Linked DNA regions of Homo sapiens: regions 2, 3 and 4 are each linked to region 1. Evidence: promoter capture Hi-C in human tissues and cell types (Jung and others, 2019). All regions are on one chromosome and are shown on one strand. The core of a region is centred on a gene start or on the middle of the fragment in contact, and the rest is flanking DNA. Distances in the headings are between cores, read along the strand shown.

Region 1 (7,616 bases), core at 3,676-6,175:
GAGAGTTCGAGACAAGCTCGGGCAACATGGTGAAACCCTGTCTCTACAAAAAAATACAAAAATTAGCCAGGCATGGTGGCACATGCCTGTAGTCCCAGCTACTCAGGGGGCTGAGGCAGGAGGATTGCTTGAGCCCAGGAGGTTGAGGCTGTGGTTGAGCCAAGATCACACCAGTGCACTCCAGCCTGGGTAAGAGAGTGAGACCCTATCTCAAAAAAATAAATAAAACAAAGTGTCAATTACGTGAAATGTTTTCCATACTCCACTGTCAAGGATACTGATTTAAACACCTATTTCACTATTTATTAACTTTTTAAACTCATGTCCCCACCTCCCTCTTTACCCTCCAGACCCACCTCCACAGAGAATCACAGACCTGTTAATGGCTTACAGTAAAGAACAGCTGTAGCACTATTAAAAAACCAGTAATACATTTACTTGCTTTCCAAAAAAAAAAACTATGTGTGCTCAAATGGTAAATCCTAATACTGAAATACTAATAAGTATAATCTTTATATTTTAAATTAACTTTTAAATGTGTCTGCTAAAAAGTTTTGAAGATTCATATATTTTAAAATTTATCTCCACAAAAGAGGTATGCACATTATCTTCTACCTTATCTGTTTACAGTTCAATTATGATAGAAGTCTGAATATGGCTTCTATTGCTGCTTTGAATACAAGGATATTATACAATAAACAGAAAAAAAAAAATACTTATTTGCTAATGATAAACTGATATGCAATAATTAGGGACCAAAAACTGTCAGTGATTTTTTTTAAATCCTTAATAGCATGATACTCTTAAAGATGCATCCATGAATATCAATTCAGACTTACCTGTTTAATATAATGGATTTGTGACACTCCATCCGTGAGTTGCACACAATGTAACAGCAAAGAAGCTAGATTTTTCCCTTCCACATCAGCAAAAGCTATATAACATATACAAAAAAAAATTTTCAATGATTTAACAGTGAGTTAACTTTGCCTTTGTTGTGCATTCTACAAAATTTTTTAATTATAAACCATAGCAATAGGTGGAACATAGTCTGAAGACAGAATTTTAAGAAAATTGTTTTACATCCAAAACATAAGGAAAAATATAAAGAATTTGAATATTATATGCTAGGGGTCCCAGTCATTAAAATACTCTGCTTGCAAACTAGAAAAAAATATAATAAGGGAAACCAGAAGTCACCTACATTTCAAAGTTTCAAGGTCCTGATGGCAAATGGTCAGCGCAGCAACTTGCATTTCTTTCTTCTTCTTTACACCCATTTTAAATAGAATTAATAGTAGTCACTGCAAGAAAGAAGACTTTAAGGCATTAATGTAAGGTTTCTCAACCTCAGCACTATGATTTTTGGCTGGGTTCATTCTTTGTTGAACAGTATCATCCTATGCATTATGTTTCATGCATCCCCATCTCTACCCACTAGATGCCAGTGGCACCCTCCTCCCTCCCAAGTTCTGACAACCAAAATATGTCTCCAAACACTGTGAAGTGTCCCCTGGGGAGCAAAACTGCTCCAGAATGAGAATCACTGTCTAAGAATTTCTGATTTGAAGAAGAAAAATGTTTTAAGCTGAAGCTTATTACTGACTGAAGTTATTTTACCTACTATGACTCAGTCTTTGTATTTTAAAATACAGCAAACTTTCCTTTTAGTGAACATACACACAAAAAAACTGGGATAGTTTTTCCAAAGATAAAATACTTCAAACTAACCTCAGTGACTCATTAGACTAAGAGGAGGTACTACCGTGTCCTGATTTCTGCAAAAATGAAAAAAAATATTTTTTTAATGCTATTCTCTTGAGTTTGCTTTTATCGATACTTAACAAATCAACGGGTTCATAACAGGCTAAACAACCCAACTCAGAGACTACACAACTACACACTAATAGTACCATGCCATCTGGAAAGAAGTTGCTAGGGAAATGTCATAGGGCTCTTCTCTTGATGCAGTTAGCATCTTTAGCAGTATTTATGATGCAAATATTAGAGACTATAATGTAGTACATGTATAAAATAAATCTGGAAGGACATGTTGAATGATGGAATCAGGAATAAAAACAGGTCAATAAACTGGAATAACGAGCAATATGAAATTTACCAAGATGAAACAGAAATAAATACAAAGGGCTGCATTTAGTTTAGGGGAAAAAAACACAGAAAGAGAGGCTGGAGAGGCAAAACGTGGTTTGAAACAGCTCAACAGCCCAAGATGACTGCCAAAAACCACAGAAGTCAGCCATATCAGAGTGCATGATTTTATTCAAACAGGCCAGGTGACATGTAGAGCATTAGGTACAGCGCTGGCGGCCATACTCTAAGGAGCCATAACAAACAATGGAACTATTTCTGAAGGACCTAGAGAGCACCTCCTTCAGAGAACAGCTCAGTTAACCAAAGGTGTTTGGCCTGGAGAAAAAGTCAACAGAACAAGAGCCTTAAAACAGCTGCTAGACTGTTTTGGAGAAAAAGGGAATAGATTTATTTGTCTACTACAGACTTTTTTTTTTTTTTTTTTTTTGAGACGGAGTCTTGCTCCTTCGCCCATGCTGGAGTGCAGTGGCGCGATCTGCGCTCACTGCAAGCTCAGCCTCCTGGGTTCAGGCCATTCTCCTGCCTCAGCCTCCCGAGTAGCTGGGACTACAGGCGCCCGCCACCACGCCCGGCTAATTTTTTCTATTTTTAGTAGAGACGGGGTTTCATCATGTTAGCCAGGATGGTCTCGATCTCCTGACCTCGTGATCCACCCACCTCGGCCCCCCAAAGTGCTGGGATTACAGGCGTGAGCCACCGCGCCCAGCCTTAGACTTCTTGTCTTGCTATTAGATTAGTAAAAGTCAGTACAAGCTACAGGGAAACAGATTCCAGATCAATACAAAGGAAAAGCTCTATGGTCCCACTAAGGACTGGGCTACCTTTTAAACAAAGAAATTTTCCAACACCAGGAATATTCAAAGAGAAGATGACTGAATATTTTCTCTTGGACTCCTGAAACAGCTCCCTAACTGGTCTCCTGACTTCTACACTTACCTCCAAAGAGCCCATTCTGTTTACAATCATCAAAGCAATCTCTTTAAAAAAAACTCTCATCAAATTGAATTACTTACTCTCTTCCTTAAAACTTTCCAAGGGTTTCTAAATACACTTAGAATAAAATTCAAACTTGAGGCCAGGAGTGGGGGCTCGTGCCTGTAATCCCAGCACTTTGGGAGGCCGAGGCGGGTGGATCTCCTGAAGTCAGGAGTTCAAGACCAGCCTGGCCAACATGGTGAAACCCCGTCTGCACTAACTAAAAATACAAAAATTAGCCGGGTGTGGTGGCAGGCGCCTATAACCCCAGCTACTCCGGAGGCTGAGGCAGGAGAATGGCTTGAACCCAGGAGGCAGAGGTTGCAGTGAGCCGAGATCGTGCCACTGCACTCCAGCCTGGGAGACAAGAGCGAAACTCCATCTCAAATAAATAAATAAATAAATAAATAAATAAATACTTGAGATTTTGCCCTTCAAGGCCCTAAATAATCTGACCCTGCCTTCCTCCACTCTTCATCTCAAACCAATCTCCTCTTCACCATCTCAAGAGCTTTGTACTTCCTGATGCTCTTATTCCCACCTAAGAGGCTTTACACTTCTCAGTATCTCTGCCCCTTAATGTTCATTCCACATCTTTGCAAGACTGACTCCTTCTCACCATTCATGTTTCTGCTGCAACATTACCTTCTAAAAGCCTTCCATGACCACTCTATCTAAAATCTCACCAATACAACACACGTAGACACCATTTCCGTTAATTTTCTTCATAGCACTTACTAGTACCAGAAATTACCCTAACTTGTAAATTTGTATATTGTCTGTCTCACCTAGTAGCAAACTGAATGAAGGCAGCAACTTTAATCTATTTTGTTCATGTTTCAAGTCTCAATTTCCAAACCAGTGCCTGGCACATAGTAGGTGTTTAACAAACACTTCACGAATAAACAAATTAATTAACAAACATTTGTCAGAGATGTTCTAGAAGGGATATATGTCTTTAAGGGCAGGAAGGTGGACTATCTGGTACCTAAAATGCATTCTACATCTAAGTGACATTCTACATCTTAAGAACCTATGGTCTGTTTGGGAAGTAAGAAATCCATACAGTAATGGCAGGTGAGCAACCACTTAACCAAAAATGGACGCAGCTAGGAAAGTGTCGACAACAGAATAATTTGTAAAGGGATAGTCAGATCTAGAGGAATAGAGGCACGCTTCCTAAGAAAGTGACCATCGTACAAAGCCAGAAGAGACTGGGAAACCTAACTAGGGAGACTATTCTCTGGTGAAAGGTAAGCAAGTTTGCAGGAGGATTTGCTCTTGCAATTCTGAGGGCTACACAAAAGCAGACTCGGTAATTATGCCTGCTCAAATGATGCCTAAACGTGTGTCCTGAAGAACCAGGGTCCCCAAGGGGGTAAATCCCGTGTCTACCGCAAGGCCAGAAGGTGCCCAGTAAATTACACTCCTCCTAGGTCCCACTTACTGCTTCCCTTTAGAACGCTGCTTCACTCTACACCTTCCTGGCTGACTCCCACAAACATTCTCTGGGCGATTTCTGAACCACGTGGAGTCGAGGAATGACAGTGGGAGAAAGTGGTTAAAGTGCTGTCTCCATGGAGACCTTAGCGACCGGAAATCAGTTTCACAGCCGCCGAATCCTGGCGATACCAAAGGATGGGAATTGGTGTGGCTCGCCAGGCAGCCCTAGCAAAACTGGCCGAGCCGAGCTACCGCGGGTCTGGCAGGCAGGACACCTGGGAGCCAAACCTCGTGCACGTCGGCGTCTGAGAAGAGTCGCAGGCGCCTGGTCCAGTCCCGGAAGCAGGTCTCCTTCTACGGCGTCTCCGAGGCTCGCAGCGCGGTCCACGGTCGACTACCGGGTCAGGGCAAAGGGAGGGAGAGAGGGGTAACCTGGAGGAGTCATCGCGAGAATTGACCAAACGCAGCTCCTCCAATCAGGAGTTCGAGGAGGTCGTGACGTCACCGGGGTGGCCGGTAGCAATCCGGTTTAGTTAACCAGCCACTGTACCGTCAGCGCCGCGCGTTCCTCATGGCGTTAGGGCTGACGGGCCTTGTTGCTGAGGGGCCTTCATTCAACGGTCTCTTGTTGAATGAAAAGACCTCATTCTCTTCACATGCTTGGACGCCTGGGAAGCGCTTTTCTCCCAATCCAGACCTTCCACCTTTCTCCCACTCTGTTGGCCCAGTGCAGAGTCTAGGAGAAAACTACGTCTGGGACTCGGGAACGAGTCCAGGGAGTTTAGAGCCTGCGAGATGGGGCAGGGGTTTGGGCGGCGACTGAACGGAAGCCACGAGAAGGATTCGGACTAAAATGAGTAGTGCTGAACCAACGTGTGCCAAAGCGCATATATTCATTCAATAGATAATGAACTCTACTGTCAGAGCGTCGCCAAGCGCTAGCCTTGAAAGCTATCCCCTACTGAGGATACATGTATTACGCAGCACATACAAATTGTCAGATGGTTCAGTCCTTGAAAAATAAATACAATAACGGGGTGTCACTGGGAGCTGCGACAGTGGGCAAGATCAGGAAAGACCTGATGCTATTATCAGGAGTATTAATTTGGAAAATAGAGACATTTCAGTTCTCTAAACGTTAATGACTTAAGTTTTTAATAATTATTTTCTGAATTTTTTATATCAGCTTGCCTTGGTTTTCTTTATAGCTTTACCACATAATGTATGTATCACTATCTTGTTTCGTTCAATTTTGAAGCTTTTGGAATTGCGTATGTATTCTCCAGCAATTTGCTTCTTTCAGCATTGCTTTTCATATTCACCTACAGGTGGCTGTAGTGCTCTTCGCCCAGGCTGGAGTGCAGTGGCGCGATCTCGGCTCACTGCAAACTCTGCCTCCCGGGTTCAAGTGATTCTCCTGCCTCAGCCTCCTAAGTAACCGGGATTACAGGCGCGCGCCACCACGCTCAGCTAATTTTTGTATTTTTTAGTGGAGACGGGGTTTCACCATGTTGCTCATGCTGGTCTTGAACTCCTGACCTCGTGATTCGCCCGCCTCGGTCTCCAAAAGTGCTGGGATTACAGGCGTGAGCCATGGCGCCCGGACCGTAATTTTCCATTGTTTAATATACTTCATTATGTATCCATCCTGCTGCCTCTTAACATGTGCATTATTTCCAGTTTTTGTTCTAAACATTGCTGCTGTGAACTATGTTGTGCATGTCAGCTGGTGAGTGTGTGCAGACGGTTCTCCACCATAATTTTTTCTGGTATTTTTGACCCTGACATAGTAAGAAATACATTGCAGACTTTGAAACTGTGGACGTAGAAGTACTCACACATAACTGAAGTAAAAATTTCTTGAAATGCTACTTTACAGGAGCTGTGAGATTTTATTTCCTTTTTTTCTAAATTATGGTAAAATACACAGCAAAATTTACCATTTTAACCATTTTTAAGTTTTATGTTTTTTAAAATATGTATATTGTTTCAGACCTACTAATTATATAACTCAGTGGGTCCGAACCCCTTTTTTGTTGGCAGACACTGCAACTCTTCACCCTGCACAGCGAGAGGTGGGCTAGGGAGCAAACATAATAAACATATGTTGAAAGGTGAAGCTACTGTTAAAACTTCAGACAAATTAAACTTAACAGGGTTTAATTGAGCAAGGGGAAAAATGATTCTCAAATCGGGCAGTCTCCAGAATCATAGCAGATTCAGAGAGACTCCAGGGATGCCTCGTGGTCAGAGCACATTTACAGACAAAGAAAGGAAAGTGATGTACAAAAAGCAAGTGAGGTACGGAAGCAGCTGGATGGGTTACAGCTTGGCATTTGCCTTACCTGAACACAGTTTGAACAGTAAGCATTGTATGAATAGTTGAAGTATGGCTGCTGGGATTGGCTGAAACTCAGCTATTGTTACAGAAGCACACTCCTAAATTAGGCTTTCAGTCTTGTCTACCTACTAAGTTAGGTTATGGTTCATCCACAAGGACTCAAATATGGAAGTGCAGAGGCTTTCTCAGGCGGTATTTAGTTCAATTTAACACCGCCATGGAAAAAATAGGGGAATGGAAAGTGAGAGTATAGGGGAGGTACATTGCAACTTTAAATAGGGTAATCAGGGTAGGCCTCACTGAGTAAAGATTTCCAAGAGACATAGACACTTGGTGAAGGGGAAACCTTCCATACAGAGGGAACAGCCAGTACAAAGTTTCCAGGGCAGGGCTTGCCTGCTGGGAGAATAGCAAGGAGGCAAGAGTGGCCGGAGCCAAGCAAGGTAAATACTAAGGAGTGGGACAAGGGGCTTTGGATTATATAAGGCTTTCACATTATTTCATGGACTCTTTCATGAAATGAGGAGTGATTTTGAGCAAAAGAATAATAACATCTAATGTACATTTCAAAATAATCACTGGAGCTACTTTGTTAAGAAGAGACTGTAGGTCGGACGCGGTGGCTCACGCCTGTAATCCCAACGCTTTGGGAGGCTGAGGCGGGTGGATCACCTGAGCTCAGAAGTTCAAGACCACCCTGGGGAACATGGTGAAACCTCGTCTCTACAAAAATGCAAAAAAAAAA
Region 2 (7,217 bases), core at 1,549-4,048, 360 kb before region 1:
CAGATTTAGTGGAGGAAAAATCCACACATACCCCCATCCCAATCCCCCAGATTTTCTTCAACATGCCGCTTCTGTTCTTGGAAGAGTTAACTGCCTCGATTCTGCATAAGAGTCCCAAACACTGAGAACTAGGGTGTCTTCCCCTTCCTTTCCTTCCAAAAAGGCCAGCAGCCTCAAGCAAGCCAAAGTCCTTTCCTCTTGAATGCGTAGTCTTGTGAACTCCACTGTCTTCACAAACTCAGCAGCTGGTGGAAGCTCTCTGAAGAACTGAGACAGGAGGTGGCACTGCTCTGACACCATCCTTTGAAGGTGACAGAGCATCTCAGGGCTTGGGGGACGCCAGCCGGACTTTGAGAGGAGACAGAAGAGGTGCTTGCAGAGGTATTTCACAAAGATCAGGGTCTCGGCCCAAAAGTTGACTTCTGCTTTTTCAAACAGGTAGTCTTCTTCCACCTAAATCAGATGAAAAAGCCGAAAGTCAGTCTTACAGGGAATGGTGACAAGCCCCAGTCCAGACCAAGCAGTACCCTGCCAGATGCAAGAGGGGTTTCCCTTCCCCCACCTGACAGAGGGTGCACTCTTGCCTGTCAACATCCATGTACACACACCACTTGCAGCCTTGAAGGTCACCTTCTATTTTCACTCACTGTATTTCTCCACCAGAGAGGAATTTTTTCCCCAGACTTAACATGACCTTGGATAAAGATGTGTTTGTGGTTCAAAGTCAAGATACTTTGGGGGATGGATGCTGAAAAGGGGACTTCAACAAGGGAGTGGGCTCTAGAGTTTAAGGTGCAGCTGGAAATTGGAGAGGAGGGAGGAAAGGTCATCTCTGCAGCAGGCCAGAGAGGAAGGAATCTCCAAACACAGGACACTAGGCTGTGTCCTGTTTCTATAACACTGTGATTCTCAAGGTCCTTTTGTCAGACACTTACCATGTCTCCAAATTTCTCATAAAGAGGGACAATGCGTTTTGAACCCTTGGCCTGCTGGGGATGCCAAGAAGGCCAGCTGAGTCAGATGCTGGTGGCGATCAATTTCAGTTCTCAGGATGCTTTTGCTGCTTGTCTTTGTCCTCAGTTTCCCTATCTGTGACTGCACCCACCCTGGAGGGGGCTAATAATAGTTTTCTTCAAGCAGGAAGTTCCCAGCAAAGATCCTAATTCTCTGAAAATGCTTCACCCTCAGACCTAACTTTGGGAAGCCCCAGGCTAACTCCAATACTGACTAACAAGCAGTCTCCATAATAAAACTCTCCGCATCCAGGGGCTTCTTTTTTTCTTTTCTTTTCTTTTCTTTTTTTTTTGAGATGGAGTCTTGCTCTGTTGCCCAGGCTGGAGTGCAGTGGTGCAATCTCGGCTCACTGCAACCTCCGCCTCCCAGGTTCACGCCATTCTCCTGCCTCAGCCTCCCGAGTAGCTGGGACTACAGGCACCCACCACCATGCCCGGCTAATTTTTTGTATTTTTAGTAGAGACGGGGTTTCACCGTGTTAGCCAGGATGGTCTCGATCTCCTGACCTCATGATCCGCCTGCCTTGGCCTCCCAAAGTGCTGGGATTACAAGCATGAGCCGCTGTGCCCGGCCAGGGGCTTCTTTCCGAGTTCTCTCCCCTGGCTAAGCTGGAGGCTGACCATCAGCACCCCAGAAGTCAGCCTAAGAGTGTCCCCGTGTCCTCGGCAGCACCCAGTGGGTGACTTTCCTAGTGGTTCCTGCTCTGTGTCTAAGCATGCAAAAGCCCAGCTGAGGCTGTAGGTGCTGCATCTAGCGGGTTTAGGACACTCCAACCCTGCCTCCTACTCCCCTGACACCCCGGGATCACCTGATGCATGCTCTCCACACAGGCCACGAGGTCATCACTCTCTCCCAACAGCCATCCCAGCAGGATGGGCAGTCCAGGGGCCAACTGGTCCCACTGCTGGAGCAGATCACACAGGACGGCCAGGGCCAGGGCCAGAGCGATGGAGGCATCCACCTGGCAGAAGGCAAACTCTGCAAAGACAGGAGAAAGGTGAGCAATGAATATACTGCTCAGGGCCGACCCCAGGGCAGCCTGCAGGACCCTGGGAACAATAAAGGCCTCAGGTAAAATCGCTGCCACCAGCCTGGCAGGGAAGCTGGTAGGGTGGGCTCACTGGAGACGATTAATCACCTTCTGAATCCTGCTATTTATACTGTTAGAATGAGTCATAGGCCTGAACCCACTGTTTCCATGCCCCCTAACTCAGTGTGGACAGAAGCAGTTCCATCTGCAGGATTAGAGAGTTATCTCCCCTCTGCTCCTCCAGTGTCACCAGAAGGATCAGGAAGGCTTCCCTGTCCAGTGTCTCCTCTGCACATCTGCCTGGATTTGACTGGTTTGCCCTTTCCTTGGAAAGCAGATCTCTTGGGCACAAGACACATCCTAGAGCAGGGCATCGGCAAGCTTTTCCTTAAAGGGCCAGAGAGTCAATATTTTAGACTTTGCAAGCCTATACCTCCTCACCTCGGCTGAAAGCAGCCATGGACAATCTGTAAACAAATGGTTGTGGCTGTGTTCCAATAAAACTTTATTTATGGACACTGAAATTTGAATTTAATGTGTCACAAAATATTATTTTTTCCCAACCAATTAAAAATGTAAAAACCATTGATAGCTCATGGGCTGTAAAAAGCAGGTGGTAGGCTGCATTTGGCTCCTATTTTGCTGCCCTCTGTCTCGGAGTTTTTTGTTTTTGGACCCTTGTTTTCCTGGGTGCTTGGAGGAAGGGCACTGAAAGAATAGAAGGGTGCAGAAAGAGGAAGCAGGGGGCCTTGGGGAAACCATTGCTTATTTCAACATTTGGCCTTAGACAATCCTAAATATGGGTTTGGAGGGAGGCTCAGGGGTGTTGTCACTTCCCCTAACAACTCTGCCCCTCCCATCCCAAACCTGGAGGGTGTCTGAAACACGGGACTGAAAGCCCACTGCACAATGGACCTCTGTAGGCCCATCTTGCACCAACTGACATTGAAAGGCCTGTCTTTCAATGATGCATTTCTATTGAGCCCTGATCACTCCCAAATCCACATCTCTAACTTGAGCACACAGACTTACCCTGACCATCTGGCCCCCGAAAGACTTACTCGGCACACAGGCAGACGACCGAGAATCTGCAACAGCAGGCTTAGTTCCCGTGGGTGTTGAACCAGGCTTACTGGGATGGCCCCACTGAGGGCCTAGTGAGTGCCAGGCCCTGATCAAATGCTGTCTCCCCAGTCCTTCTAGCATCCTATGGGTTGGGTATTATGTAACCCACTTGCACACATCAAGAAATTACAGTTGGCAACAAGTTTCATGGTGCATGCAAAGCGCAGATTTGGAGACCCAGCATCAACAATCCAGAGGTTTTGATGGTGGGGTCAGCAGGGGTAGTGACCCTGCAGTAGGGCCAGGACTATTCAGAGGTCACACAGCAGCACCTAGTTGCATGTAAGCAGGTGAAAGTACTGATCTCACCATCTTGAGAGCTCCAGATAAGTCCCCCAGGACACTTGCCCTTTAGTGTCCCCGTTCCCCATGCTGCTTGCTCTGCAGCCTAGAACCCAGATTTAAACCAGGAAACAGAAAAGGGGAGGGGGTGAAGGTGCATTTTGGCTGTGGGTCTGAGCCATGTGTTGACTGGGCCTCTACCTACAATACAATCTCCATTTTTACCTCTACCTAACTCCTTTCTGCAGTTCTCAATTGGCTGAGAATCTGTATAGAGAAGGGATAATTAAGTGGCCTTTTTCTTTCTTTTTTCCCTTCAACTTTTATTGATTGATTGAGACAGAGTCTGTTGCCCAGGCTGGAGTACAGTGGCGTGATCTTGGCTCACTGCAACCTCCGCCTCCTGGGTTCAAGCAATTCTCCTGCCTTAGCCCCCAAGTAGCTGGGACTATAGGCATGTGCCACCACACCCAGATAATTTTGTTTTTGCCCAGCTAATTTTTGTATTTTTTGTAGAGACTGGGTTTCACCATGTTGGCCCGGCTGGTCTCAAACTCCTGACCTCAAGTGATCTACCCACCTCAGCCTTCCAAAGTGCTGGGATTACAGGTATGAGCCGCTGCACCCAGTGGGTTTATCACTCTTTTTTTTTTTCTCAGACTGAGTCTTGCTGTATTGCCCAGGCTTGTGTGCAGTGGCGTGATCTCAGCTCACTGCAACCTCCACCTCCCGGGTTCAAGCGATTCTCCTGCCTCGGCCTCCTGAGTAACTGGGATTACAGGCTCCTGCCACCATGGCTGGCTAATTTTTGTATTTTTAGTAGAGATGGGGTTTCACCATGTTGGCCAGGCTAGTCTTGAACTCCTGACCTCAAGTGATTCACCCGCCTCAGCCTTCCAATGCGCTGGGATTACAGGCATGAACCACTGTGCCCAGCTTATCACTTTTTTGTTGTTGTTGTTTTGTCTTGAGACAGAGTTTCGCTCTTGTTGCCCAGGCTGGAGTGCAGTGGCACCATCTCGGCTCACCGCGACCTCCGCTTCCCAGGTTTAAGAGATTCTCCTGCCTCAGCCTCCCAAGTAGCTGGGATTACAGGCATGCGCCACCACACCCGGCTAATTTTGTATTTTTAGTAGAGACGGGGTTTCTCCATGTTAGTCAGGCTGATCTCGAACTCCTGACCTCAAGTGATCTGCCCCCTCGGCTTCCCAAAGTGCTGGGATTACACCCATGAGCCACTGTACCTGGCCTCCCACCACTTTTTTTATGGTCTCCTTAAGGCAAGGACTGAAAGCCCAACAGGGAAGAAAAAAATTTCATCATCCATCAGCAAAATCAGTATCTGCAGCTCAAGTGACATTCCTGTTGAGTCCATAAAGAACCTATGGGGGTGACCAGAGATGCCACCAAGGAAGGCTAGGCTGCTGCACTAGCCCCACCTGACAGGACAGGTAGCCTCTATCCTGCACCATTTTTTTTTTTTGAGACAGAGTCTCGCTCTGTCGCCCAGGCTGGAGTGCAGTGGCGGGATCTCGGCTCACTGCAAGCTCCGTCTCCCGGGTTCATGCCATTCTCCTGCCTCAGCCTCCCGAGTAGCTGGGATTACAGGCACCCGCCACCACGCCCGGCTAAATTTTTTTTGAATTTTTAATAGAGACGGGGTTTCACCGTGTTAGCCATGATGGTCTCGATCTCCTGACCTTGTGATCCACCTGCCTCGGCCTCCCAAAGTGCTGGGATTACAGGCGTGAGCCACCACGCCTGGCCCATCTTGCACCATTTTGCCATGAATCATGGTTAGGAAGGGGCAGGAGAGTGGCGGGATGACAGGCAAAAGGGAAGAGCTGGTGTGATGTGGCCAGAAGTGGGTCTAGATAGAACTCTTAACTACCCAGACTCCAAGCCTGCAAGGCAAGGACAGAAGAGGAAGGAATGCTGAGATGTTTTGGGGATGCGGGGGGAAGGATGAGTTGGATTTAGATCTCCTGCTTGAGGGACCAGCTGCAACCTGCCAAATTCGGTCTCTTACTACCTTGCCCTGGACTAAGACAGCTCAGCCAGAACTGCCTAGATCTCTACTGGCCAAATGCCTTATGAAGGGAGGCTGGAGTAGGGAGAGGAATTTGTCACTTAAGCATGCAGGCCAGCTAGGCTCTTACAGGCTGGCCAGTCCATCAAGGAAACAAGAAAGCAAGCAGCCAAGCAACAAGTGTGTTTTAAGAATCTGCTGAGAGGCTGGGCTCAGTGGCTCACACCTGTAATCCCCTAATTTTGGGAGGCTAAGGTGGAAGGATCACTTGAGACAAGACCGTGTTGCTACAAAAAATAAAGAATCTGCTGTGTATCCAAAACAATCTTGAAAAAGAAAACAAAATTGGAGGACTCACACTTCCTGATTTCAAAACTTACTACAAAGCTATAGGAATAAAGACAGCGTGGGCCGGGCACGGTGGCTCACGCCTGTAATCCCAGCACTTTGGAAGGCCGAGGCGGGTGGATCATGAGGTCAGGATATCGAGACCATCCTGGCTAACATAGTGAAACCCCGTCTCTACTAAAAATACAAAAAAAAAAAAAAAAATTAGCCAGGCATGGTGGTGGGCGCCTGTAGTCCCAGCTACTCGGGAGGCTGAGGCAGGAGAATGGCGTGAACCCGGGAGGCGGAGCTTGCAGTGAGCCGAGATCGCGCCACTGCACACCAGCCTGGGTGATGGAGCAAGACTCTGTCTCAAAAAAAAAAAAAAAAAAACCAGGGAATAAAGACAGCGTGGTACTGGCATAAGGATAGACATATAGATCAACAGAACAGCAAGGGCAGATTACACAAATCAACAGACTGAGAGTCCAGAAACACACCCTCACATTTATGGTCAAATGATTTTTGACAAGGGTACCAAAATAATGGGGAAAAAACGGTCTTTTCAACCAGTAATCCTGGGACAACTGGATACACACCTGCGAAAGAATGACGTTGGACCCCTACCTCACACAATATACAAAAATTAAAATGTACCGAACACCTAAATGTAAGAGCAAAAACTAGAAAACTCATTTGATTTTTTTTTTTTTTTTTTCTGAGATGGAGTCTGTCTGTCACCCAGGCTGGAGTGCAGTGGCGCAATCTCAGCTCACTGCAACCTCTGCTGCCCAGGTTCAAGCAATTCTCCTGCCTCAGCCTCCCTGAGTAGCTGGGATTACAGGTGCCTGCCGCTGTGCCTGGCTAAACTTTTTATATTTTTAGTAGAGACGGGGTTTCACCATCTTGGCCAGGCTGGTCTTGAACTCCTGACCTCGTGATCCACCCGCCTCGGCCTCCCAAAGTGCTGGGATTACAGGCGTGAGCCACCACGCCCGGCCTTGAGCCACCACGCTTGGCCTTAGAAAACTCACAGAAGAAAACATAGAAGTAAATCTGTATGACCTTGAATTAGGCAACTACTTCTTAGATATGACATCAAAAACACAAGCAACACTAGAGAAACTGGGCTTTGTCAGACTGGGTGCTGTGGCTCATGCCTGTAATCCCAGCACTTTGGGAGGCTGAGGTGGGTGGATCACCTGAGGTCAGGAGTTCGAGACCAGCCTGACCCAATAGGGTGAAACCCTGTCTCTACTAAAAATACAAAAATTAGCCAGGCGTGGTGGTGGACACCTGTAGTCCCAGCTACTTGGGAGGCTGAGGCAGGAGAGTTGCTTGAACCCAGGAGGTGGAGGTTGCAGTGAGCCAAGATCGTGCCACTGCACTCCAGCCTGGATGACAGAGCAA
Region 3 (7,770 bases), core at 3,350-5,849, 340 kb after region 1:
TAATACTTTATACTTTTCATAGCAGTCAATGGCGACCTCAAGAGCAGTAGATAGGTCGCCCCTTAGAAACAAAAAAATTAGCAATGAATAAAATAAATCGAATTCAGCTTAGTCTCTTAGTAATACTTTAGAGAGATGTTTAATGACCAGTTAATATGTAAACAACTGAGCTTTACTTAAGGTAGAAAACCACAAAGCTAAAATGGGGGAAAAAAAGAAACAATCTTTATATATAAGTAAATGTTCAGAAAACATACATCATCAGCAATCCACTATTTACCCTGCTTCATCTTTTATTATTTCGTGTGTTAAAGGGTACTTTATAAAAAAGTCCAAATAGATTAAGGCATTCTCTGATTTTACTGTAAATTCTGACTTTATGTAGAAAGTTGCTGTAAGAATGTATTACTTCTGAAAGCAAGGACTACCGTCAAATACTTTTTTCCAATCACTTACGTGCCTTTAACAATTGTATCTCAATAATTTCAGATTTGGTAAACGTTATTAAATGTCCACCAATAGCTAATAAGGAATTTTCAAGAACTTTTTCATCTTTATCATAATATTTTCTGTACTGTCACCTTACTAGCCAAGTAGGAAATAACCTCAAGTTTCATATATATGGGAACTTACTATTATGAAAACTAGGATATTCGTGTTGGTCAGTGAATTCTAGAAGAATTCTAAATACTTTTTTCATTAAAGGGTAAGCTTTTAAAAATTATTTCCAATTACAAAGTCAAGCCTTCTTTTATGTGAGAAATTAAAATAAAAAGACACTGTCATTAAATCAGTTTCTTAAACAACAGTGTGGTACTATATTCTTGTGGGTCCTTAAGAAGTATTTTCCCCCCATAAAAGGACAATTTGCTTTCAATTTACTTTAACCCTGTCTTTATTAAAAGTTTTTTTGTAATTTCTCTCTTACCATACTGAAATAAAATTCACAGGTAATATAAAAAAAATAAAATAAAAGGACAATGTTAGTATGAGAAATATTTAAGACCTTGCAAGACCAGGTGCGGTGGCTCATGCCTGTAATCCCAGCACTTTGGGAGGCCAAGGAGGGCGGATCACCTGAGGTGGAGAAACCCCATCTCTATTAAAAATATAAAATTAGCCGGGCGTGATGGCGCATGCCTGTAATCCCAGCTACTCGGGGGGCTGAGGAGGGAGAATCCCTTGAACCCGGGAGGTGGAGGTTGCAGTGAGCTGAGATCGTGCCATTGCACTCCAGCCTGGGCAACAAAAGTGAAACTCTGTTTCAAAAAAAAAAAAGAAATCCCTTGGAAGAACTATAGAGATTATATGATCCAATTCTACTTGCCACCCCCTTTTACTTTCAAAGAAATAATGAAACTGGGGCATCTAGAGACTGGCTGATTTGACTAAGGCTACCAGGTAAACAGAGGAAGGTACTAGGTAAGCAAGTCGCTGGACTTCCCATTGTCAGTTCAGTACATCTAATTACACATTATGCTTTATTAAAAGCACTGGTATTTGAATAATGTAATAAAGTGGTGCAATTTGGAATAAGAAATTAACGATTTATGAAAAGAGAGTATGAAAGGTATTTTAAAAAGAGGCATGGTTAGAGACATGGCTCCAAGTACAACTAGTGACAATTAGTGAAAATCTTTGTAGAGAATATAAATTTCTCATACACATAACAGTTTTCAAAACCAGAAAGTCCTTTTATACTTCCTGTTAAAGCCTTCACATTTTTGCCTATTATACAAATGTTACATTGCCCTAAGTTGAATTACTATTTTATCAAGATCTGATTTTAAGCTGTACTAAAAAAGTAAAAGACAACGAAGAAATGTTAGTTTTATTGCAATAATAGTGACACAGTGAAAACGAGCCTATCCTGATGGAACTCTTACCTTATCCCCTTACTAAGCCCTGTTTACAGTGCATCTTCTGGCACCCCACAGAGTCATTTGAATTTTTGTCATTTGGGGTGAAGACTAAATTACAGGTTAATTTCAAACTGCAAGTAGATGTTGCAGGCTGGATTACTGTCATAGAAGAGAAATGGTACAGTAGCTACCACATATGATATAAAGCTTTATATAATCAGTATTTTCCCTTACTTCAGACACAGGTTCGGTTATTGCCTTTCTATAACTCTGCTTAACGAAAAACTACTAAAACATTTTTTAAGAGCAAAGCTAACACACATACGATTTTTTTTTAAGTGGCATGATTTGCTTTTCCAGATCAATTCCCAAACTAGAATAGTATTGTCTCAATTGTATTTCCCCCTACATTAGGTCAAAGCTATCAATAAATGAATGAATAATTGTTCTGTCAATCAAAGCGACACGTTAATAGTCTTTGGTCTCCAAATATATGCTTCTGAAGATTATACATGTTCAGAACAACAACAGAAAAAACAAGAATGGCAAAATGGAAATAATTCATATATTTGTCAGTAATTTTAAGAACCAATGTTACTGCTCTTAGGATGCCAACAAAATGAATTAGAAATTTATAATGAAATACCTCATACAAAGTGTACTGGAGATAAAAACAAAGTAAATGACTAGTCAGTTCTTCAGTCCCTATTATCTAATTCGGACTTGTGGTTGGATCATGTCATTTTAAAAGACAAAAATTTACATTCCCCACATAATTTATGTCACTATTAATCTTTCATAATAAAGCTTGAAAACTTAGGTGATGACGGAAATGAAAAATATGTTTAAAAGCACCTAAAATTTGCATTGCTATGAAGATAGCTATGTAGTCATAGGACTTTGGATTTCCATCCCAACTGATAAGAGTACTTATGCTACTCAGCTGTAGCAACGTGATACATTTCTAGAAGTGGTGATGAAAAGCAAATTATCACAACAGCTGAACTCAAGGACATTTGGGTTCCCTCCTAGTTCTAACAGGTTCTATGACTCTGTGCTTATTAGGTTCATCTAAAGTGTTTTGCACAAGCAGAGAAAATCATCAGGTGAAAATACCACTTTTATTAGGCAGGATGAAATCAGTAAGGGAAGCACAATATCAAAAGGAGAAAGGTAAAAATTGCTTTACAACCAAAATGTGGGACAACACATTACCAATCAGTCTACTTCTAGCTTCTGTGACCCAAAGTGATCTGTGAATTTCTTTGAGCACTAGAAATGATTTAAATCCTGCTAAGAAATAACAATAATCCTCTGAAGAAATTAATGTTGACACATTAATTTTGCATTCAAAACTTTGAGCCCATGCTTGTATCAGCATATATGCATAATTCCTAAAGCTTCACATACAAATATTTAAAGGCTCACTCCTAATAAAAATTTAGTCAATGCTTTCACAAATGACACTAAAAGAAAATCAACTCTGTAGCATACTATTACCCTTTATAAAAAAAAAAATCAAGACACCCCCCTCAAAATTTCAATAGACTACATAATTTTCATGCATAAAACTACGTACACTAATAAAAAGTAAGCAATCATTTTAAAAAGCAGTATTTTGTTTGGTGCAAATTAAAAATATAAGCTTTACCAAAATTCTGTAAGTCTATGAAATAAAGGTAAAATTGAGGAAAAGATTCTGTAATTTTAAATTTTAAGAACATATATATGAGATAGGCTGGGTCCAGCAAGAAATTTGGAAACTTAAAATAGAGTTAAATTCATTAACTTGAATAGACTCACTTGGCCTGCATCAAAATTCATTCTAGAATCTAGAATTCACTTCTTAAGGGAACATGACTACAAAGAGCTACTACAAACTACAATTTTTTCATTATTACACGGAAGAACATCCCGATAAATAAGCTTGAAGCTCCGATGGCAAATCTGATAGTACCACTCATTTGAGTCCTCATTCTGAAACTGAAGTATGCTATAACGTCACTGACAGAAAAACAAACACCATGTAGCATGTAAGTTTGCTGGACAGACATTTCTATGGGACATCCACCAATCATAAAACTATCTACTTTGAGATACCAAGAAACATGTACTCCTAAAACTCATATACATTCCTCAATACATATACCTGTAAAAATCATAAATGTATTTCATACAATCTGGAATTGTTAAAACAACCACGAGTGACAACTATCTATTTATCTATTAGTAGCTTTAAACTTAAGTCTCGTAATTTATACTAAGTAACTTTCTAATCCCAGAGAGTATACTTAAACAACAAAAGAAAGATGGCCGGGCGCGGTGGCTCACGCCTGTAATCCCAGCACTTTGGGAGGCTGAGGTGGGTGGATCACGCGGTCAGGAGATCGAGACCATCCTGGCTAACATGGTGAAACCCCGTCTCCACTAAAAATACAAAAAAAAAAAAAAAAATAGCTGGCGTGGCGGTGAGCACCTGTAGTCCCAGCTACTCGGGAGGCTGAGGCAGGAGAATGGCATCAACCCAGGAGGCGGAGCTTGCAGTGAGCCAAGATCGTGCCACTGCACTCCAGCCTGGGAGACAGCAAGACTCCGTCTCAAAAAAATAAAAATAAAAATAAAAATAAAAACAACAACAACAACAAAAAACGAAAGATGACAAATATTGATTTTTTTTATTTGGAATAAAGTACTTTAAACTTATACATTGTTAGTGAAGTGGCAATTTATGTAACAGGCTTCCTTACTGAAATGCGCTCAAATCTGCAATCACTACAGAAAAGAAGGGCTGTGGGGGGAGAAAAAAGTTTAAAAAAGAAAAAACAAACAAACAAAAACCAAACTGAACTCCTTAAAAACAAACTATCTTACAAATCCTCAGCAGATGTTCAATATGGGAAGAAACCAATTCAAGAGAAACCATCATCTTCACAAAAATTATTCTGTTAAGAGAACCAGCACTTGAAAGAGCTAAATGTTTTTTTTCTGTTCATCATCTATAAATGAGGAATCTTCAAGGAGACTGGTGTTGCAATTACAACTAATCCTCCCCAAAAAATTAACTGTGTTGAAGGCTTTGTAATTTCCCTAGGTACAATTTAGCTGTCACTTACTTTAAAATTTACTCAAACATGCGTTCGGAACAGCACTAACTTCACATGTCAAGTGCTTTCCAGCCAATTGAGTCTAAACTGGAAGTCGGTGTTAAACAACTGAATGATTAGACAAGATAGCTCATTTCCCTGCTCTTTTGTTCAGAATAAAATGCCACATTTACATTATCAGGCTCAACAGGATTTTCTGACAGAGGCAGAAAAAACCCTACTGCACACTGTCCGTACTAAGCACATGAAGCCTGTCATTTACCAATCATCCTTCAAAAAGCAATAGCCATGAATGTAACTTAATTACGACCCAATGATCCTTGACGAAAAATCATCTTATCACTGTCCTGTCCCCCTAGGGCAAATGAACCACTTTTTGTCCTTTGGCACTGATGATGCTAAATTCTTAATTGCAATAATGGAGTAAAAGAGCCAAACCTCCTTAATTTCCTTTCAGCACATAAGGAGTTTTACTCTAGAAGGCAAGCATTCCCATAAATAATGAAAGTATCCAGTACAAATGAAGATGCTAAAATTGAAGGGGAGCATGTGTAACAGAATCATCAACATTTTAAAAAGCCTATTTCCCATTTATGTAACATATTAAAGTGTTACAGTGAGTTCCAAAAACATTGTTACAAGTTCATCTTAGAGAAATTGTGACCTTTATGAACTCAAGATTAATTCAGCAAGAATTCTGGGAGGATAGTATATATGAAGTTCATGACACACTTAAATGAAATGCATATGTACATATACAGATTATAACACAAACCAGCACAAAAAAAATCCTTAATGGAAAGCAGAAATTAAAGCTGCTTTGATCACTTGCACCAACATAATCCAGTTAAACAGCTTCAGTTATTTTTTAATGCATGCAATGAAACCAAAATGGATCAGGTATAAAACAAGTGAACCTGAAACTGCATCATACAAATTTTTATGCTTTAATATCTGATGGCCCAGACTTTATTAATTTCATTTCCTTGACCATAACATGAAGACTAATAAAAAACTCTTTTAACCTATTTTAAAGCATTTCTTTCTTCCTTAATGTGACGGATTGCTGTCATCTCCATGAATCAGGCATGATTTTAATAAGATAAAATACTTACAAAAGAAAATGTTTGAAATAATACTCATTTGGACTACATGTAAAATACGTGGCTTAGAGACTGTAATGTAATGTAAATGAAACATAAAAATTTTGTTCAACTGCAAATTTTTTTCCATTCAATGCAAGTATTTTCATTTTGATAATACAAAAGCAGGTTAGCTTACCAACTTCTTTATAATTTTCTAAATCTGTTATTGTTTTGGATTTCCCTTGGCAAATGAATAAAAACAGTGTATTTTTTCTATACCCATAAAGCTTTTTTACATTGTCTAAATAACACAAACTGACACAGTATTAATTTCTCCTGTGTTTTGTCCAATGCTGGAAAAGTCGGTTCAGAATTAAGATCCACTGAAACTTAAAGAGATTATCTTTCTAAGGAACTCAGTCTCATGGAACTGCTTCAGAATTACAACACGAAAGTGATATTCTCTTTAGAGCCTTTTACAGTGACATGCCAAAAAGATGCCTGCCTTTGAATGAAAGGGTGAAGATTTATGATGATGTTTCAAAATGTTTTTTATACTTTTATCACAAGTTTGAATAAATAAAGCTCATTTGCCAGATGAGCTCATACCTGCTGAGGTCAATTACATGATATTACTGAAGATTATACACATTTAATCAAATCGAATACACGTGGACTTTTTGGCAGGCTAGTGTGGTTAATCCTAGCACTTGTCATGATTCTGAATTAATTAGCTATCTTCCATCAGTTGGAGAAAACACAATTGAGAAAGAGTTTCAAAGTCAGGGTTTTACTCCAGGCATTTCCCCTGACTACGAATGTTTCTGCTGTTTTCTGTAATTTCATAAATATAAAATTTCCTTTATCTTTTTATTAGTCTCATGACTCTGAAAGAGTCAATAGCCCTTTTTATTATGATAGATGAAACTGAAAGACCTCATCATGGAGACTGCATTAGCAAAGTAGTCTAAAAAAAAAAAAAAAAAAAAACTAGGCAAATAAAAACAGAATTAAAATAAAATAAAAATAGAAGATATACATATCTGAAAGTAGTAAAACACCAATAATGAAAAGACACTAATTTAGATTTCCTTAGCTCAATTAGCAGGGAGAGCCAAATTTGACTGAGACACAGAAATATCTGACTTCAGGATATAATCAGAAGCACAGAGGATGCTCTAGGTTAACATTTGAATTCCACACCGTTTCCATTTTCCCATGGGTAAGCTCTCCTTGGTTCATGAGCCCCATCTGCAGACCTCTTTCGGAAAGCTTTCAGGTCTCCTCTGTCTTCAAAGTATTTCTATTTGTAAGATACTTTTCTACGATGGCCTCATTTTCATTGTTAATTATTTTATTTTTGCCCGGTAGTGTAGGAGGGCCTAATTTTTCTGGGCACTGGGCCCATTTCTTTCAAATCCTTCTGTAGAGTTGCACATGCAATTTGCAGAAATGGGTCTTTTAAGCAATTGAAAAAAATTCTAATAGGAAGCATATTAATTATAGGATTTCTATATAAAGTTGGCTATGAATATGATAACTCAATAACACAGTCATTATTTGAATCACTATTTCTTTAAAAGGATGTAATGCTGAGACTGTAGAGGTTAAGATTTGACCAGTCATCTAACCCGGTAATTGTTTTTGATTGGATGGCAAAGGAATTATTTCATGTGTGCATGCATGTATTCACACATTTTTTTAAGTTAGTTAAAAGAG
Region 4 (6,928 bases), core at 530-3,029, 480 kb before region 1:
CCCACCCATACCAGACCTCCAGTGAAGGCTGAGCAACTTATGGATGAATAATTTCTGCTCTTAGGCTCTGTGAGCTGATGTTGAAGGCAGACTGGCAGGGAGGGAAGGCTCCTCCCACCACCTGCCTATAAGCCTGGTTTCAAAGTATGTGGATTTGGGCAAGATTCCAATCTTGCAGACTCAGCTTCCTCAACCTTAAAAATGGAACAATAGCATCTGCCCAGGCTACTTCACAGAGGAAAAGATCAGGAAGCTTGATATGCAGGAGCAGCTGCTCTGAGCAGATCCTCTACAAATATCATCTCACATCACTTATCTCAGATGGGCAAACTGAAGCATATAGGGGCTTAAAAGTAACCTGTCCAAGTTCATGCAATTGGTAAGTAGTGGCCCCCAGCCCTAACTTGGTCTTCCCCATCATCTCTCTATAATCAGATGGCACCACCACCCACCTGGCTACTCAACCCAGAAACCTCAGGTCATCCCTGCTCCTCTCTTGTCCTCACCTCCTATAGACAATTGGGCACCAAAGTCCGGTTTTTTGCCTTAATAAATCATTCTCCAATCTTGCCCTTTCCTCCATGTCTGTTGCCACCACCCTAGTCCAAGGCCCCCGCATGCCTCTCCTGAATCCTGCAGGAGCATCCTTGCCAGTCCCCATGCTAGTCTTCTTCCACTCCACCACGCTCACCCCCATGGCAGCCTCGAGCACCTTTTTGGAAATGCAAATCTAGCCATGCCAACTCCCAGGTTAAGCCAGCTCAATGGCTTCCCACTGCTCTTATGACAAAGACCTGGGCATGGTCTGCCCGGCCTGTGCCATCCAGCCTCTTCTCGAGCCCCTCCCACTCTGCTCCTCCTCTCTCCGTTTCAGTCATGGCAGCCTTCTTCCAGTCCCCTGAACACCCACCAGCTTCCTCCTTGGTAGAAGCATTCTTTGCACATGCTGTTTCTTCTGCATGGAACACCCTTCCTCCCCATCTTCACCTGGTTGACTCCTAATCACCCTTTTTGTATCTCAGGTCTGGTGTCACTTCTTCAAAAACTTTTCCCTGACCTCTTGACTAGGAGACATCCTCCTAGAGCACTCATTGCTGCTATTATTTTATGTCTCTTCGAGTAATTATTTGAGGAATATGTCTCCCTTACATGATTTTAAGCTCCTTCAGGACGAGAACCATGTGCATTTTGCTCACCATTGAAACCCAGTGGATGTGGAAATCAGTAGACACAGTGTCCAGCACATAGCAGAACTTGAATATTGGCTGAATGAATGAATCAGTGAAAGCTAGAATTGAAATCTAAGTCTTCATGACTCCTCTGCAAATTGCTGTGGGGAATTGTATTTGTCTGCTTGGGCTGCCGTAACAAAATAGCACAGATTGAGTGGCTTAAACAGGAATTTGTTTTCTCACACTTCTGGAGGCTGGAAGTCCAAGATCAAAATGCCAGCACGGGGCTACATATGGTGGCTCATGCCTGTAATCACAGCACTTTGGGAGGCTGAGGCAGGTGGATCACTTGAGTTTAGGAGTTCAAGACCAGCCTGGGCAACAGGTGAAACCCCCATCTCTACCAAAAAATACAAAAAAATTAGCCAGGTGTGGTGGGCACCTGTAATTCCAGCTACTCGGGAGGCTGAGGAAGGAGAATCACTTAAACCCAGGAGGCAGAGGTTGCAGTGAGCTGAGTTCACACCACTGCACTCCAAACCCGGGGACAGAGTAAGACTCTGTCTCAAAAAAAAAAAAAAGAAAATGCCAGCAGAGTTGGTTTCTGATAAGGCCTCTCTCCTTGAATTGCTCCTTCTCACTGTGCCCTCTCACAGTCTCTTCCCTCGGGGCATGCATGCAGAGAGGAGGGCTGTGGCGCTTCCTCCTTTTCTATAAGGACACCAATTTATCAGATTAGGACCCCACACTGAGAACCTCATTTAACCTTTTTTGTTTGTTTGTTTTGTTTGTTTTTGAGATGAAGTCTCACTCTGTCATCCAGGCTGGAGTGCAGTGGCGCCATCTCACCTCACTGCAACCTTTGCCTCCCGGGCTCAAGAGATTCTCCCACCTCAGCCTCTTGAATAGCTGGGACCATGGGCAAGCCCCACCACACCCGGCTAATTTTTGTATTTTTAGTAGAAACAGGGTTTAGCCATGTTGGCCAGGCTGGTCTCGAACCCTTGACCTCAAGTGATCTGCCTGCCGCCTCCCAAAGTGCTGGGATTACAGGCATGAGCCACCACACTCAGCCTCATTTAACCTTAATTACTTCCTCAAAGGCCTTATCACCAAATAGGGTCACACTGGGAGTCAGAGCTTTCACATGTGAATCTGGTGGGGAGATACAATTTACTCCAAGACATTCCATCCTCTGGCCCCATAAAATTCATGTTCTTCTCTCATGCAAAATTCATTCAGCCCATCCCAGCAACCCCAGACGTTTTAACCCATTCCAACATCAATTCCAAGTCCAAAGTCTCACTGAATATCTAAACCAGGTATGGGTGAGACTTGAGGTATGTTTCATCCTGAGGCAAAATTCTCTCCAGCTGTGAACCTATGAAACCAGACAAGCTTATGTGCTTCCAAAATACGATGGTGGGGAGGCATAGAATAGACATCCTTATTCCAAAAGGGAGAAATTGGAAAGAAGAAAGGGGCAATGGATCCCAAACAAATCCAAAACCTAGCAAGGAAAATTCCATTAGATCTGCAATCCATTAGGCTGTAGTCCCAGCACTTTGGGAGGCCAAGGCAGAAGGATTACTTGAGCTCAGGAGTCCAAGACCATCCTGGGCAACATGGCGAAACTCTGTCTCTACAAAAAATACAAAAATTAGCCAGGTATGGTGGTGCATGCCTGTATTCCCAGCTACTCGGGGGTAGGGGTGCTGAGGCAGGAGGATTGCTTGAGCCCAGAAGGTCAAGGTTGCAGTTAGCCATGATCACACCACTGCATCCTAGCCTGGGTGACAGAAGGAGACCCTGTCTCAAAAAAACAAAAAATAATGAATAATCCTCTTTGGCTGAATGCTGTGCCCACTGGGGCAGCTTCATCACCCCCACCACCCTAGGTGGTAGATCCCATTCTGCAGCTCTGCTAGTCACCTTGCCCCTGAGGCACTGGGCAACATTTCGGCCCACTGAAACCAAGAAGGTGGCCCCGCTCTCTGAAAGCAGGAAAAAACAACCAAGCCCCTGGGCCTGGGGTGTGAATGGCAGCCCTGATAATCTCCAAATTGTCTTCAGGGGTCATTCTTCCCTTTTCTTGAAGGATAACGTATGTTCAAAGCTGGATAACTCTATTGTCCTGTCCTGTAGAATCCCAGAAGTCCAACAGCCTTCTTTCATTCTGTTCCATTTTCTCTGTTTTCTTTAGTCCCAGCTGGAAGTGTTTCTGCTAATATAATCCCATCTCTATTCCTGGCTTCAACTGAGATGGTTGATTAAGTTCGTGGGAATCTTTTTATGGAGTGATTGTCCAGACAGGCCTTTGGTATTTGCACCAAGCAGAGAAACGTGTTTTCTCTCTTTTTGAAATATGGACAGGCTGAGCATTTCCAAATCTTTAAATTCTGGTTCCTTTTTGCATAACAATTCCTTCAACTTATCTCTTTCCTCTTGCATTTTATTATAAGCAGTAAGGAGAAACCAGGCTACACTTTCACCACTTTGCTTAGAAATCTCCTGTGCTAAATATCCAAGGTCATCACTCCCAAGTTTTACCTTGACTGAACACAATTCAGCCAAGTTCTTTACTACTTTATAACAAGGATTGCCTTTTTACCAGTTTCCAACATCATGCTCCTCATTTCTGAGACCTTACCATAAGTACATTTAATGTTCATATTTCTACCAACATTCTGTTTATGATGATATATGTATTCTCTTAGATGATAGAAACTTTTTCTACAACTCTTTCCTTTCTGAGCCTTCACCAGAATCACGTTTAATGTTTGTATTTCTACCAACAGTCTCTTCAAGGCATTCTAGGCTTTTTCTAACATGCACCTCAAAACTCTTCAGTCTTTGCCCATTACCTAATTCCAAAGCCACTTCCACATTTTTAGGTATTTGTTATAGTAGCATCCACTCTTGGTAGCAAAATCTATATTAGTCAGGGTTCTCTGGAGAAACAGAACCTATAGGAGATATATACATCTCCTATGTATACATAGATGGTCCCCAACTTATGATGGTTCAGAATTATGATGTTTTTCACTTCATGATAGTGCAAAAGCAATACACATTCAGTAGAAACCATTCTTCAAATTTTCAGTTTGGATCTTTTCCTGGGCTAGCGGTATGTGGTATGATATTCTCTCATGATGCTGGGCAGCAGCAGTGAGCTGCAGCTCCCAGTCAGTCATACAATTATGAGGTTAAATAACTGATATTCTACAGTTTACTGTATTGCCCGATGATTTTTGCCCAACTGTAGGCTAATGTAAGTGTTCCGAGCACATTTACATTAGGCAGGCCAAGCTGTGATGTTTGGTAGGTTAGGTGTATTCAGTACATTTTTGACTTATGATATTTTCAACTTACGATGGGTTTACTGAGATATATCCCCATCATAAGTCAAGGAACATGTGTGTGTGTGTGTGTGTGTGAGAGAGAGAGAGAGAGAGAGAGAGAGAGTATGAGGTATTGGTTCAAGCAATTATGGAGGGTGGCAAGTTCAAAATCGGTAGAGCCAATGTCCCAGTTTCCATGTGAAGGCCAGCAGGCTACTGCAGAATCAGGAAGAGCTGATGTTCCAATTTTAGGTTTGTCAGGCAGAATTCTCTTTTATTTAGGGCAGGGTCAACCTTTTGTTCTATTTAAACTTTCAACTGATTGGATGAGGCCCACCTGCATCATGGAGGGCAATCTGCTTTACTTAGTCTACAGATTTAAATGTTAATCCCATTCAAAAACACCCTCATAAAACACCCAGAATAATGTTTGACCAAATATCTGGACACTTCATGAACCAGTCAAGTTGACACATAAGATTAACCATCATAGGAATCATACCAGAAGATAGATGTGATCAAGGCTTAATGAGTATCCAAGACCAATGTAAGAGATTAGCACCAGGGCTAGAATTGTGATTTGCCATTCAGTCATTTCATACACATTTACTACACACATATTACTAGTATCTCAGTTATCTATTGCTGTGTAACAAATCACACCAAAATGTAGTGGCTTAAAACAGCAATGATTTATTATTTCTCATGATTTTGCGGATCAGGAATTTGGGTAGGGCTCAGCTGGTTGGTTCTTCTGCTCCAGGTGGCATCTTAGTGCCACTTATTCAACTGAGTTAGCCTAGAAAGTCCAAAATGGCTGCACTAAAATATCTGATGCCTTAGCTCCTCCACATGGCCTCTCTGTCTCCATGTGCTGTCTCATCATTCATGAATCTACCCACACTTCTTTTCAGCTAGGTGGCTAGATTCCTTGAGAGCATTCCAATAGAACAAGCCGCAAGAGGAGAAGCAAGTGCTTATTAGATCTATACTTGCATCATGCTTATCAATGTTACATTGTCCACAGCAAGTTACATGCTCAAGCCCGTGAGGGGAAGACAACGATACAAGGGCATGAATGCCAAAAGATATTATTCACTGGGAGCCACCAATATAACAGTTCACCCCAAGATATGAGGGGACACTACTCCTGACTCTTGTCCTCAAGTATCTCACAGACCAGTACAGCACTTCTGAAATGTGTTAGAGATCACAGAATTCTCAACATCATTCATGCATTCAGCAAGCCCTAATATGAATTCCTGACATCTGATAAAGTGTCCCATTTTGTAAAGGCAGATTATCATATGATGATAAGTGTAGTCACATATTTATACTTTTCATACATATATTAATACATTTTTTAACATAATTTTTTGAGATGGAGTCTCGCTCTGTCACCCAGGCTGGAGTGCAGTGGCATGATCTCGGCTCACTGCAAGCTCTGCCTCCCGGGTTCACGCCATTCTCCTGCCTCAGCCTCCAGAGTAGCTGGGACTACAGGGGCCTGCCACCACGCCCGGCTAATTTTTTGTATTTTTAGTAGAGACGGGGTTTCACCGTGTTAGGCAGGATGGTCTTGATCTCCTGACCTCGTGATCTGCCCGCCTCGACCTCCCAAAGTGCTGGGATTATAGGCGTGAGCCACTGCGCCCGGCCTCAACATAAATTTTAAACTAAAAATGTTACTAGTTTTGGCCAAGCACAGCAACTCACACCTATAATCTCAGCACTTTGGGAGGCCAAGTCAGGAGGATTGCTTTTAGCTCAGGAGTTTGAGACCAGCCTGGGCAACATAGTGAGACCCCGTCTCTACAAAAAAATATAAAAATTAGCCAGGCATGGTGGCATGCACCTGTAGTCCTAACTACTCAGGAGGATGAGGTGGGAGGATCACTTGAGCCTAGGAGGTCAAGGTTGCAGTGAGCCATGATTGGGCCACTGCACTCCAGCCTGGGAGACAGAGCAAGACCCTGTCTCAAAAAGAAAAAAAAAATTACTAATTTTGTGTGTTTGTGGGAGGAGACTTTTTACATTCCATGGTACGGTAACGTTGCTCAAAAAGTTCTGGAAATGCTGGCCTGGTAGGAATTTAAAGCTTATAGAGAAGGGCTTTAGGTGTCTAGGACCATAAATGCAGGCTGCCCACAGTGGATCAGACACAGTTTGTTCCAGAGGAATGGAAAGCCCTCCTTTCTGTGGGACTGCCTGTGTCCCTTGTGTCCCTTGGCCTTGAGTGATGGGAGGTCAGGAGCATCATTGCTACACCACCTGAGGAGTGTCTGGGACAGCCCCTGTCAGTCGACTCCAACACATTCTACTGCATCAACACTGACCCTCTGTCACCTGGCGCGAAAGAATCCCATGTCTTACACACTGGGCAACACCCACCCCACTCTACCCCACCCCATCTCA

The links. The method cuts DNA at HindIII sites, captures the fragments that hold promoters and counts their contacts. A contact is called where the count stands out against the background at its distance.
Region 2: a contact is called between a fragment that was not itself captured here and the fragment with the promoter of THADA in region 1, in 1 of the 25 tissues and cell types used here (lymphoblastoid cells).
Region 3: a contact is called between a fragment that was not itself captured here and the fragment with the promoter of THADA in region 1, in 2 of the 25 tissues and cell types used here (dorsolateral prefrontal cortex and mesenchymal stem cells).
Region 4: a fragment that was not itself captured here is called in contact with the fragment with the promoter of THADA in region 1 in 1 of the 25 tissues and cell types used here (lymphoblastoid cells).

The regions. Positions count from the first base shown.
Region 1 is chr2:43,591,113-43,598,728 of GRCh38, forward strand. THADA (THADA armadillo repeat containing) reads right to left here and starts at 4,926. Exons shown (of 38, transcript NM_022065.5): 1 at 4,819-4,926; 2 at 1,205-1,304; 3 at 840-934. The coding sequence starts at 1,280. The HindIII fragment of the contact is 9,276 bases long and covers 53-7,616 here.
Region 2 is chr2:43,230,891-43,238,107 of GRCh38, forward strand. THADA (THADA armadillo repeat containing) reads right to left here. Exons shown (of 38, transcript NM_022065.5): 37 at 1,823-1,992; 38 at 1-453. The coding sequence ends at 58. Among named protein-coding and RNA genes, the nearest start is that of LINC01126, 7.3 kb to the left of the region's middle. The HindIII fragment of the contact is 6,129 bases long and covers 1-5,863 here.
Region 3 is chr2:43,934,818-43,942,587 of GRCh38, forward strand. It overlaps LRPPRC (leucine rich pentatricopeptide repeat containing), which reads right to left. Exons shown (of 38, transcript NM_133259.4): 24 at 1-61. Among named protein-coding and RNA genes, the nearest start is that of LRPPRC, 57 kb to the right of the region's middle. The HindIII fragment of the contact is 4,461 bases long and covers 2,370-6,830 here.
Region 4 is chr2:43,114,235-43,121,162 of GRCh38, forward strand. No RefSeq gene overlaps it. Among named protein-coding and RNA genes, the nearest start is that of LINC02580, 15 kb to the left of the region's middle. The HindIII fragment of the contact is 5,622 bases long and covers 1-4,590 here.